Linked DNA regions of Homo sapiens: regions 1 and 2 are each linked to region 3. The links are contacts of gene promoters, found by promoter capture Hi-C in human tissues and cell types (Jung and others, 2019). All regions are on one chromosome and are shown on one strand. The core of a region is centred on a gene start or on the middle of the fragment in contact, and the rest is flanking DNA. Distances in the headings are between cores, read along the strand shown.

Region 1 (4,088 bases), core at 369-2,868, 370 kb after region 3:
TTCGTTGGTCTCGACCATTGCAGGCATCTTGTCAACAGTCACTACATCTTCCTCGGGCACCAACCCCAGTAGCAGTGCCAGCACCACAGCTATGCCAGTGACCCAGTCTGTCAAGAAACCCAGTAAGCCTGTCAAGAAGAACCATGCTTGTGAGATGTGTGGGAAGGCCTTCCGAGATGTGTACCATCTCAATCGACACAAGCTCTCCCATTCAGATGAGAAACCCTTTGAGTGTCCTATTTGTAATCAGCGCTTCAAGAGGAAGGACCGGATGACTTACCATGTGAGGTCTCATGAAGGAGGCATCACCAAACCCTATACTTGCAGTGTTTGTGGGAAAGGCTTCTCAAGGTACTGCATTTTGCTTTGCTTTGCTTTGCTTCATTATGGTATCAGTGTACTTCAGTTTTGTCTCCATGTGATCTAGAATGTTTATGTGAGAACAGATGTGGGCAGACCTGTGTTATTAGAGGAGATTGGTGATAGATAAGTATTAACACCTCCAGGTCTAACCTCAGTTTGGTGTGATTGACAAGTGGTGACATAGTGATTAACCTGTTTTTTTCACTTAACAAGTGCCTCGGTGGACTCAGGCTTTCATTTGGCACATGGATACTTATCACTGCAAAACCACCAGTTTTCAGTTCAGTTGGGGGACTAGACATGAGGCTCACTGGGCAAATTAAAGTAACATTTCTTGGAAGTTGGGATGACCTTGGATACTCTTAATTAAACTTTTAGAATGTTTTTTCATTTTTCTGAGAGCACCAACATTTCACTAATTTTCATTTATAAAAGCTTTTAGAGTTAATATAGTGGTAGCTGTTTCTGGCAAGTGTTAAGACTAAAACTTCGGGTATTTTGTAATTGTAAAGAATCAAGACCTAATATGATTTGATGTTGACTAGGAGAGAAAATTAACAGGTAGAGGCCTAAGACTTTGTTCATGGTAAGAGAGGGAAGGAGACTTGCACCGGGGGAGGGAGGTTGGTAATTCTGCTAGCTTTCCCTAAAATGCACCCCTTCCCAATCTGCCAAGCATGTGAGCATCACATAAGTAGCATTTCTCTATGTGTTCGATTATATCTTCTGTTGAAACTCTCTTTTTCACAGGCCTGACCACTTAAGCTGTCATGTAAAACATGTCCATTCAACAGAAAGACCCTTCAAATGCCAAGTAAGAGTTAAAATGACTTATCCTTAGTGTAGCACTTAATGCACATTATCCAGAAGGTCTGAGCCAGTTGAATCTCACCATTCTTGAATAGTCTTAAAATCACTGACCTGAGTAAATGTGGCCCATTTGACTTCTAGTTTTATAAAATATAACTGACAGCTTCTGTTTCTGTAAAGCAAGATCATTTAAAAATTTAAGCGTGTTGTTTTTTTTAAGCTATATTTCCCTTTCTTTGGGCAATAGTATTTTTTGTTAGGAAAAAAAAGTTACAGTCTTGCAAAGGTGGTTGTGTATTTGAAATGAATAAAAGAATAAAGGGCTTTAATTTCTGGGTTGATTATTGAAGTTGTTTTAACTGTAATAGGAGAAAATAATGAATTTTTCTCCCAAATGTTACCACTTACTAGATTTTTGTTTGTTATTACCAAATTGGAACACTTTCTAGTTGTTTAAAAATCTATTCCAGTTAATGATTTTATTTGACATCAATTATAATAACGAAAACATTAAGAATTTTGCTAAATCAAATGACTGTTTTAGGCATTGGTAATTTTAGTTTGTTGCTGGAAGTCTTTTAGTACACCTTTCAGTTAAGTTTGTTAATGACTGATTTTATTAAGTAAATGATTTGAATGCTAAGAAAGATCTAATTGGAGGAAGGAAGCTAGTGTCATTGAGTGAGTGCCTGCTGTGTATACCAGGCTTTTCTTAATCCACCAGTAATTTTGTGAGAGATGTTATCCCCATTTTACAGATGAAGAAGCTTTCAGATAGGTTAACCAACTTGTTCAACATTACACCATTTAGTAAATTGTGGAGCTCAACTTAAACCCAGGTTTAACTTACCCTAAAGCTTACATTTTTTGTGCTACTCTGTGTTGATGTATTTTCTTCCTTCAAAATGGAAGAGTCTAAAATTTATCAAGAGTTTTATTATGATTATGATTCTAGGTAACATATGCAATTAAAATTCAACTAGTTGTCAGCTTGCTGATGTGGATAGGGTAATGCACAGAATATAACGTACTTCAAAATGAGTAGAACAGGATAGTCTATATTTAAAAAAAGTTTTCCTCCCTCATGCAGACGTGCACTGCTGCCTTTGCCACCAAAGACAGACTGCGGACACACATGGTGCGCCATGAAGGCAAGGTATCATGTAACATCTGTGGGAAGCTCCTGAGTGCAGCATACATCACCAGCCACTTAAAGACTCATGGGCAGAGCCAAAGTATCAACTGTAATACATGTAAACAAGGCATCAGTAAAAGTAGGTGGTGCTTCAGATTTTCTTTCTTTTATATTTCAGATGGGTGAAATATGCATGTTTTCATATTGTATCAAAGGTATTAATATTCACCTTACGTGTTTCCTCCTATTGCCAACATGTGCAAACAGGCAACAATGGACAGAGTATATTAATGTCAGAACTATGCTTTACTTTCATGTATGCAAACAGCATTGATAAGCTAATAATAACCTTTAAGGTGAAAGCAGTATTAATAAGCTTGCTTTTCAAACCCAAATCTGTAGAGAAATGAGATATCATATCCACTTGAAGGTTTAAATGCTTTGCTTGCCTTAAATTCAGAGTTGAAGATAGAATACTTGCATTTACCCAGGCTTTTTCTTTTAAGATTGCCCTAACCACTAGAAGAAGGCATTTTCCTAATCCTTTATTCTATTATATATGTACTTTATGCAGTAGAAACATCAAATTCTCAAAAAAATAGGTGGCCACAAGAGAATGGGGAAGAAAGCTTAATGTGTGTTAATCTATCCATTTTTACTTCTTTGTAAGTACACTGGGTTTGTAAGTACACTTCTTTGTAAGTACACTGGTATGTTGTACTTTATAAGCATTCACTTCTGTTTTTTTTGTTTTTTTTTTTTTTTTTTTTTGAGACGGAGTCTTCACACTGTTGCCCAGGCTGAAGTGCAATGGCACGATCTCGGCTCACTGCAACCTCCGCCTCCTGGGTTCAAGCGATTCTCCTGCCTCAGCCTCCCAAGTAACTGGGATTACAGGTGCACACTGCCATGCCCGATTACCTTTGCTACTTTTTTTGTATTTTCATAGAGACGGCGTTTCACCGTGTTGCCCAGGCTGGTCTCGAACTCCTGAGCCCAGACAGTCCACCTGCCTCGGCCTCCCAAAGTGCTAGGATTACAGGCATGAGCCACTGCACCCGGCCTATAAACATTCACTTTTAGTGTACATTATTGTGATCAAATAAAAAATTTTGTTGAATGTTGATTAGTCCTATATTAATAATATCAAACTTCCATTTTTAAAGACACTTGCTTTTTTTTTTTTTGATGGTTTTTTTTTTATAGCAAAGAGTCCTTTTCTCTTTTATATTGATTTTTGCTAGTTCTCTAGACTTTTTAGTGCTTGTTTATTTTGACCAATATAGACACAGCAGCAAAAAAGATGCACTTACTAAGAGCTATCAGGTTAAATGGTTAAGATCACAGAAGCATGAGAAGTCAATTTTGAAAAAAAACGGCAACAGTTTTACAGGTAGATACAGTGTTTTTGGTTTGTCTTTGTAATAGCATGCATGAGTGAAGAGACCAGTAACCAAAAGCAGCAGCAGCAGCAGCAGCAGCAGCAGCAGCAGCAGCAACAACAACAACAACAACATGTGACAAGCTGGCCAGGGAAGCAAGTAGAAACACTGAGACTGTGGGAAGAAGCTGTTAAAGCAAGGAAGAAAGGTAAGGCACAGCTTCCAGTGTTGAAAATATGGCTAGAGAAGTGTTTTCATTTAGTATGCCAAGTGATCAAAGTAGAGAAGCCACAGTTTTAGGAAATCTAGCTTAATGGAAACATGGAAATAGTGCATGCTGGGAAATATCTGGTAAAGTATAGTTATTGGCAATAAAGTGTCCAGATAAGTTATTACTA
Region 2 (3,912 bases), core at 743-3,242, 350 kb after region 3:
AGGTGCTAGGCTGGGATTTCAGGGGGTGAAAAGTCATTCATGACTTTTCATAAGAAGTTTACTGTTTAGGTAAGCAAAACAACACTTAGTTCAGCTTGATACTCAAGCATCGGGTTAAAAAGCATCAGACTTCTGTTACCAGACAACTTATAAGTGCCAACTATTGGTAGAACTGTGGACATGAAGATAGTGGAAACAGCTTCTCTAGGATGCTATACTCATCTCCACCAAATGCACTTTGAACAAAAACAACTTGTAGAAATAGGTCTTAATTTTTTTTGTTTGTTTGTTTGGTTTTTTTACAACATGCTGTACTGCTCTCCATTGGTAAGTGCTAGGGAAAATCACTTAGCCACTAGAGGGAGCTATAACACAAAATTAAGCAGGAAATAATCCCCATTATAGATACATAGAACAAAGTAGAGACCAGCTAACTACCTTGATCCTCTGTATCAGCTCTAAAGTTAGATGGTTTGGGTAAGTTTTCTTGCAACTTTACCTTTGTCTTCCCATCTTTTGTGTAAAATTCTTCCCCTTTTCAGCTTTTGCATCCATTTAGGTTTTCAGAGTTTACCTTACAGGCACTCATTTTGTAACAAATCTAGGTTCTGGGACTAAGAAAATACTGAAGACATAAGTCTGCTTGTTTTTCTGCCTACCTTGTACATCAGGTATGGAATAATAAGGCCATGAATGTGAGAATTGGGAACAGGAGTTAGGTGTGCTGGGGAAAACTAGACATAACAATTTGGTTATGAACTAGAAGAAATGAATATGCTTTTAGAGACCTGCAGTTTGCTTTTATGGAGTGACAGTTTCAGGTGTGATGATCTTCTCAGTATTACTAAGAGGTTCTTAAAGTTTGTCTTAAAATCCTACTTATGTGTCAGCTTAGCTGTTTTCTATTTTCTAGGCCTCACTTAAGTAGCAGGTTGTCTTGTGATCAAAAAGTCAGTAGACACAGTAGTTAATGCCATATTAACAGCTGAAAATTACTGAAAATTTAACACTTTTAGTATCTGTCATTCCCATCACCGCTTTCTCCCCAGGTTTCTTTTATAAAAAATGGAAAGGACACAAACTTGTCTCCTGTTTACAGTATAAATTGTCATTGAGAATACTAAACCTTTTAGGCCCATATGATGGGATTTAGTCATCCAGAAGACAGGTGTGGGACAACTGGCCTTAAAATGTTAATTTTAGAAAATCAGTCTGTTTCAAAGAATAAAGCACTAAAAGTGGACAAAGTGGACTTCTTGTGGGGGGAAAAGTAATCAAGTTTACACAGTAGAGATTTCCCTGCCTGCTAAGGTAACACTAAGTAGCAAGGAAAGCTACAGAAGGTAGTTACTGTTAACTAGTAGTCTTGCTGCAAATTGGATTGACAGCTGAAAGGGCACTAACTAGATTGAAGCCTGTCTTTAATCCTGTAAATGTTAGCTCTGGTGTCCCTTTGATAATTTTTAAATAACTTTTGAAGATGCACTCTGAAGCCACAAATTAGGCAAATGAAAATTCAGAATTCTCCTTGTAGAAAGAAAAGTGCTAAACCTGGAGATTGTAAAGTGCTAAGAAAAACCATGGTAGAATTGTTCCCTCAGGTGCTGTGTATTAGAGGAGGAGTCTTTATATGTCATTTTGGGATAAGCTTTCAACAATTATTAAGGCTTAATACATAAGATTATAGGATCAGTCAAGCAAAAGGGAAGGTATAACCTTTAGATAGGACTGGGAAGTGCTGGGTGAATGTCTTCTACCCTTAACGGTGGTAGAAATTTGAACTATAAAATAACACCAAGAGTGACATTCACATTTTTTTTGTCTTTGTTTTTGACACAGGGTCTCACTCTGTCACCCAGGCTGGAGTGTAGTGGCACAATCTCGGCTCACTGCAACCTCCGCCTCCCGGGTTCAAGCGATTCTCCTGCCTCCCAAGTAGCTGGTATTACAGGTGCCCATCACCACACCTGGCTAATTTTTGTATTTTTCATAGAGACAGGGTTTCACTATGTTGGCTCAGCTGGTCTCTGAACTTCTGATCTCAAGTGATCCGCCCGCCTCGGCCTCCCAAAGTGCTGGGAATACAGGTGTGAGCCAGCGCACCTGGCTGACATCCACAACTTAAGGCTAGAAATGTAAAATGTTGGTTCGCAGTGTAACAAGCACATTCCAAAGAAAACTCAAATGGCTCCTTTGTACTCTAAAAATAGTAAATTTGCAGCAAGGTGATAGTCAAGTTCTGTGTCTTCAGGGTGCCACCGCATCTATGATTTAGATTAACCTAGAGATGTGTTTACTTGCCAAATAGAGTTCTTCAAGATGCTGTTTGGATTTGTCTTCCCATCTCCAGTTGCCATATCAGCATTTTTGTCTGTACCCAAATTCATATTACTGAAGTGTTAAAGCTGGTTTCAGTGACTCCAGATCCTTAAAACATGTCACTCCCTTAATATGAGTTAACAATGGGTTATATTCTACCTTTCCAATTTATCCTGTTCTCAATCACATCTTCCCCTACCCTGGTTGATTTGGTAAATACATGTATTTTTTAACTCTACAGACCCAGGAACTGAATATATTTATATTTCCCAATGAGCTAAATGCAGTGCTGACAGTTTTAATATTGATGGGCGAGATGGGAAGAATTTAGTATTCCCTAAAAGCAAAGCACTGTAGAAGTCTGTTTCACAAGCTATTCGTTAACTGGGTGGATTATTGGAGAAGGTATTTTAATACTAATAACTCCTCAGATGTGAAGCCAGAAAATTTGAATTAATCTAAATGCTAGCCTAAGTCCAAGTATAATTGGATAAGTAAATGTTGCTCCCAGAATTGGTCTTGCAAAGTAAGACCAATTGTAAGACCAAAGTAAGTGGTTTTGATGTAAGCTGTGCACACTTTCAGTACAGATCACCAAGAATTGATGACATTGTCTCCAAAAAGACTAAATAGTTGCCTCCTAGGTATCCTTTTTCAGTCATTCTCTTTTAAGCTTCTTACAGAGGAAGCTTTAAGTTGCCTCAGAATTTAGTGGTATTGCCTCAATGAGAATTCCTGCATATTTCTCTTTGGGATGGAATCATTTTGGTTGTTTTTTTGTTGTTGGTAACTATTCATAAAGAGATTAATACATAACGATGTATTGTGAAGAGACTAGATAGCATGTATATTATTCCTTGGGTTGGGAGTCTTAAGCATTAACTTTAGGACCCTGACCCTGGTCTTTAGGTTTATAGGATCAGCTAGCTTAAACAATTCTCTCAAAACCAAGAGACCCAGCATCCATACATTTTAACACCCCACATCATAAATCCCATAAGCAGCCCCATTCCTTTTGCCATTAAAAATCTCACCCCTTCATGATCACACCTAATGACTGAAGCATTCTTGAACTAATTGCGTTGTTTCTTATTTGCTTTTCTTCATGTTTTAAAAAGTGCTATATGTGCAGGTGGACATGTTGCCCTTAAGCTGTTCTCTAGTTTAATGTGTATGCTTTGTTTTCTTCAGCTACATAGTAAACTGAGAGCAAAGGCTGTTTTTTTTTTTTTTTTTTTTAAGACAGTGTCTTGCACTGTCACCTGGGCTGGAGTGCAGTGGCGCAGTCTCGGCTCACTGCAACCTCCACCTCCTGGGTTCAAGCGATTCTCCTGCCTCAGCCTCCCAAGTAGCAGGGATTACAGGCACCTGCCACCACACCTAGCTAATTTTTTGTATTTTTAGTAGAGACAGGGTTTCACTATGTTGGCCAGGCTGGTCTCAAACTCCTGACCTCGTGATCTGCCCGCTTCGGCCTCCCAAAGTGCTGGGATTACAGGCATAAGCCACCGCGCCCGGCTCCCCAAAGTCTTATGTTTTAAACTTTTTGACATTTCTTCTAAGATGTCCAGAATGCTAGTACCTGCACCTTAA
Region 3 (4,225 bases), core at 209-2,708:
GTTTTGTTCTGTCGTGACTGTCACTCAGGGTAACAACGTCATCTCTTTCTACATCAAGAGAAGTAAATTATTTATGTTATCAGAGGCTAGGCTCCGATTCATGAAAGGATAGGGTAGAGTAGAGGGCTTGGCAATAAGAACTGGTTTGTAAGCCCCTAAAAGTGTGGCTTAGTGAGATCAGGGAAGGAGAAAGCATGACTGGATTCTTACTGTGCTTCAGTCATTATTATTATACTGTTCACTTCACACATTATCATACTTCAGTGACTCAGACCTTGGGCAAATACTCTGTGCCTCGCTTTTTCAGTCCATAAAATGGGCCTACTTAATAGTTGTTGCAGGACTTACATGAGATAATAGAGTGTAGAAAATATGTTCCAAAGTGGAAAGTTTTATTCAGTGATAGAAAACATCCAAACCTGTCACAGAGCCCATCTGAACACAGCATGGGACCGCCAACAAGAAGAAAGCCCGCCCGGAAGCAGCTCAATCAGGAGGCTGGGCTGGAATGACAGCGCAGCGGGGCCTGAAACTATTTATATCCCAAAGCTCCTCTCAGATAAACACAAATGACTGCGTTCTGCCTGCACTCGGGCTATTGCGAGGACAGAGAGCTGGTGCTCCATTGGCGTGAAGTCTCCAGGGCCAGAAGGGGCCTTTGTCGCTTCCTCACAAGGCACAAGTTCCCCTTCTGCTTCCCCGAGAAAGGTTTGGTAGGGGTGGTGGTTTAGTGCCTATAGAACAAGGCATTTCGCTTCCTAGACGGTGAAATGAAAGGGAAAAAAAGGACACCTAATCTCCTACAAATGGTCTTTAGTAAAGGAACCGTGTCTAAGCGCTAAGAACTGCGCAAAGTATAAATTATCAGCCGGAACGAGCAAACAGACGGAGTTTTAAAAGATAAATACGCATTTTTTTCCGCCGTAGCTCCCAGGCCAGCATTCCTGTGGGAAGCAAGTGGAAACCCTATAGCGCTCTCGCAGTTAGGAAGGAGGGGTGGGGCTGTCCCTGGATTTCTTCTCGGTCTCTGCAGAGACAATCCAGAGGGAGACAGTGGATTCACTGCCCCCAATGCTTCTAAAACGGGGAGACAAAACAAAAAAAAACAAACTTCGGGTTACCATCGGGGAACAGGACCGACGCCCAGGGCCACCAGCCCAGATCAAACAGCCCGCGTCTCGGCGCTGCGGCTCAGCCCGACACACTCCCGCGCAAGCGCAGCCGCCCCCCCGCCCCGGGGGCCCGCTGACTACCCCACACAGCCTCCGCCGCGCCCTCGGCGGGCTCAGGTGGCTGCGACGCGCTCCGGCCCAGGTGGCGGCCGGCCGCCCAGCCTCCCCGCCTGCTGGCGGGAGAAACCATCTCCTCTGGCGGGGGTAGGGGCGGAGCTGGCGTCCGCCCACACCGGAAGAGGAAGTCTAAGCGCCGGAAGTGGTGGGCATTCTGGGTAACGAGCTATTTACTTCCTGCGGGTGCACAGGCTGTGGTCGTCTATCTCCCTGTTGTTCTTCCCATCGGCGAAGATGGCCCTGGAGACGGTGCCGAAGGACCTGCGGCATCTGCGGGCCTGTTTGCTGTGTTCGCTGGTCAAGGTGTCAGTCGGGGACCTGGTTGTAGGGCCCATGGGGGACCAAGGTCGGGGAAAGAGGGCGGAATGGGGCTGTGGGACAGTAAAGAGAAAAGTTAAGTCTCAGAACTCAGAGGTGGCAGGGGGAGTGAGAAGCCGAAGGAGGCCATCGTTTACCTCGTAGGATCGCGGACAGGTCTTGCAGCTGAGGGCAGGGGCGGTCTTACATGCCTTTGAATCCTCAGCTCTTAGACGTTCGGTGAACTTACGTTGGAGCCGAAAGACACTGGGAGTCAGAGGCGGGTGGGGATCCGCTGCTGAGTGAGTAGTCGGAAAGGATGCCTGACCCTGAGTAGACTAGAGAAAGGAATAGATAAAACGGAATTGGGAACGAGAGAGGAAGGAGTGGGAGGGTGGGACTTAGGAATGAAGCTTTGAGAGTAGTAGGTGGGGAACCTTAGGATACACAGTCAACATAGGGAAACAAGAAATTGAGCAGGTCGAAGTATTGAGAAAGCTACTTTTTCTCTTGGTCTTGTTCATGCTTATCTCTCCTTTTCCTTTATTTTTCTTTCACTCCCAGACTATAGACCAGTTTGAATATGATGGTTGTGACAATTGTGATGCATATCTACAAATGAAGGGTAACCGAGAGATGGTATATGACTGCACTAGCTCTTCCTTTGATGGGTAAGCCGCTTCAGTTTCCATCATTCACTTCTGCATTACCCAACCTGCACCCAGAGAAGTAAATGCAGGGCAAGTGTTAATCCTAGTTGGGCCCAGCCATTCGTTTTTGGGGGTTATTTTGTGTGGGTTTTTTTTTTTTTTTTTTTTTTTGAATCAGGGTTTTGCTCTGTGGCTCAGGCTGGAGTGCAGTGGCATGATCATAGCTCACTGCAGCGTGGAATGATCCTCTGACTTCAACCTCCCAGAGTGCTGGGATTATAGGTGTAAGCCACTGTGTCCAGCCTCAACAGTTATTTTGGGACATACTAGTGCTATGCATCTAATACAGTGACCACTATCCACGTGTAGCTACTGAGCACTTGAAATGTGTCTAGTCCAAATTAAGACATGCTTTTAAGTATAAAATATACCCCAGATTTCAAAGACTTAACATGAGAAGAAAGAATGTAATCTTAATAATGTTTGTTAAATGCATGAAAATTTTTTTTGAAAATGAAGGGAAGGGAGGTGTAGTAATGGTAGATCATTGCCCAAAAGCTGTTGCTTTTTTTTTTTTTTTTTTTTTGGACAGACTTTTCGCCCTTGCCACTCATGCTGGAGTGCAATGGTGCAGTCTCGGCTCACTGCAACCTCTGCCTCCTGGGTTCAAGCAATTCTCCTGCCTCAGCCTCTTGAGTAGCTGGGATTACAGGCACCCACCACCACTCCCAGCTAATTTTTATATCTTTAGTAGAGACGGGGTTTCACCATGTTGGCCAGGCTGGTCTCAAACTCCTGACCTCAGGTGATCTGCCCACCTCGGCCTCTCATAGTGCTGGGATTACAAGTATGAGTCACCATGCCCGGCCCATTTTAGCCATTTTACTTATTTATTTATTTATTTATTTATTTGAGATGGAGTCTCGCTCTGTCGCCCAGGCTGGAGTGCAGTGGCGCAATCTCGGCTCACTGCAACCTCCGCCTCCCAGGTTCAAGCAGTTCTCTGCCTCAGCCTCCTGAGTAGCTGGGATTACAGGCACCTGCCACCATACCCAGCTAATTTTTGTATTTTTAGTAGAGACGGGGTTTCACCATGTTGGTCAGACTGGTCTTGAACTGCTGACCTCGTGATCCACCCGCCTCGGCCTCCCAAAGTGCTGGGATTACAGGAGTGAGCCACAGCGCCCGGCTGCAATGGCACGATCTCAGCTCACTGCAACCTCCGCCTCCTACCTCAGCCTCCTGAGTAGCTGGGATTACAGGCGCCCACCACCACGCCCAGCTAATTTTTGTACTTTTTTTAGTAGAGACAGGGTTTTGCCATGCTGGCCAGGCTGGTCTCGAACTCCTGACCTCAGGTGATCCTCCCGTCTCAGCCTCACAAAGTGCTGGGATTACAGGCATGAGCCACTGTGCCCGGTCGCCATTTCTAAATACACAATTCAGTGGCATTAGTGCATACTCACTGTTGTGCAACCGTCACCACCATCCATCTCCAGAACTTTTTTCATCTGTACCCATTAAACACTAGCTCCTCGTTCTCTCCTCCCTCCTGTCCCTGACAACCACCATGCTTTGTCTCTATGAATTTGGCCACCTTAGGCACCCTTAGGTACCTATGGGCTCATTCAGTAGCATTTTTTAGCTTCTTTCACCAACATAATGTCTTCAAGGTTCATTCATATTGTAGTATGCAACAGAATTTCCCTCCTCTTTTGAGCTGAATAATATTCCCTTGTATGTGTATAGCATGTTCTGCTGCCCATTCATTCATCAATGATATCTTGGGTTGTTTCTCCCTTTTGGCTATTTGTGAATAATACTGCTGTGAACATTGGTATACAAATATGTGTTCAAGTCCCTGCTTTTCATTATTTTCAGTACAGATGCACCTCAACTTCCGAGGAGTTACAACCTAATAAGCCCATCATAAGTTGAAAATATAAGCCAAAAGTGCATTTAACACACCCAACCTACTGAATATAATAA

What was found. The method cuts DNA at HindIII sites, captures the fragments that hold promoters and counts their contacts. A contact is called where the count stands out against the background at its distance.
Region 1: a contact is called between a fragment that was not itself captured here and the fragment with the promoter of SUPT4H1 in region 3, in 1 of the 25 tissues and cell types used here (dorsolateral prefrontal cortex).
Region 2: a contact is called between a fragment that was not itself captured here and the fragment with the promoter of SUPT4H1 in region 3, in 1 of the 25 tissues and cell types used here (hippocampus).

What each region holds. Positions count from the first base shown.
Region 1 is chr17:57,978,962-57,983,049 of GRCh38, reverse strand. VEZF1 (vascular endothelial zinc finger 1) reads left to right here. Exons shown (of 6, transcript NM_007146.3): 2 at 1-351; 3 at 1,114-1,177; 4 at 2,264-2,447; 5 at 3,737-3,898. Among named protein-coding and RNA genes, the nearest start is that of VEZF1, 7.2 kb to the left of the region's middle. The HindIII fragment of the contact is 6,153 bases long and covers 1-4,088 here.
Region 2 is chr17:57,996,130-58,000,041 of GRCh38, reverse strand. It overlaps a transcript of SRSF1 not described here. Among named protein-coding and RNA genes, the nearest start is that of SRSF1, 9.2 kb to the left of the region's middle. The HindIII fragment of the contact is 5,520 bases long and covers 1-3,912 here.
Region 3 is chr17:58,349,434-58,353,658 of GRCh38, reverse strand. It overlaps SUPT4H1 (SPT4 homolog, DSIF elongation factor subunit), which reads left to right and starts at 1,458. Exons shown (of 5, transcript NM_003168.3): 1 at 1,458-1,592; 2 at 2,151-2,257. The coding sequence starts at 1,524. It overlaps TSPOAP1-AS1 (TSPOAP1, SUPT4H1 and RNF43 antisense RNA 1), which reads right to left. Exons shown (of 5, transcript NR_038410.1): 4 at 1,745-1,915; 5 at 1-1,660. It also overlaps a transcript of RNF43 not described here. RefSeq lists an enhancer at 142-677 and silencers at 1,065-1,494, 1,775-1,884. The HindIII fragment of the contact is 5,411 bases long and covers 1-4,175 here.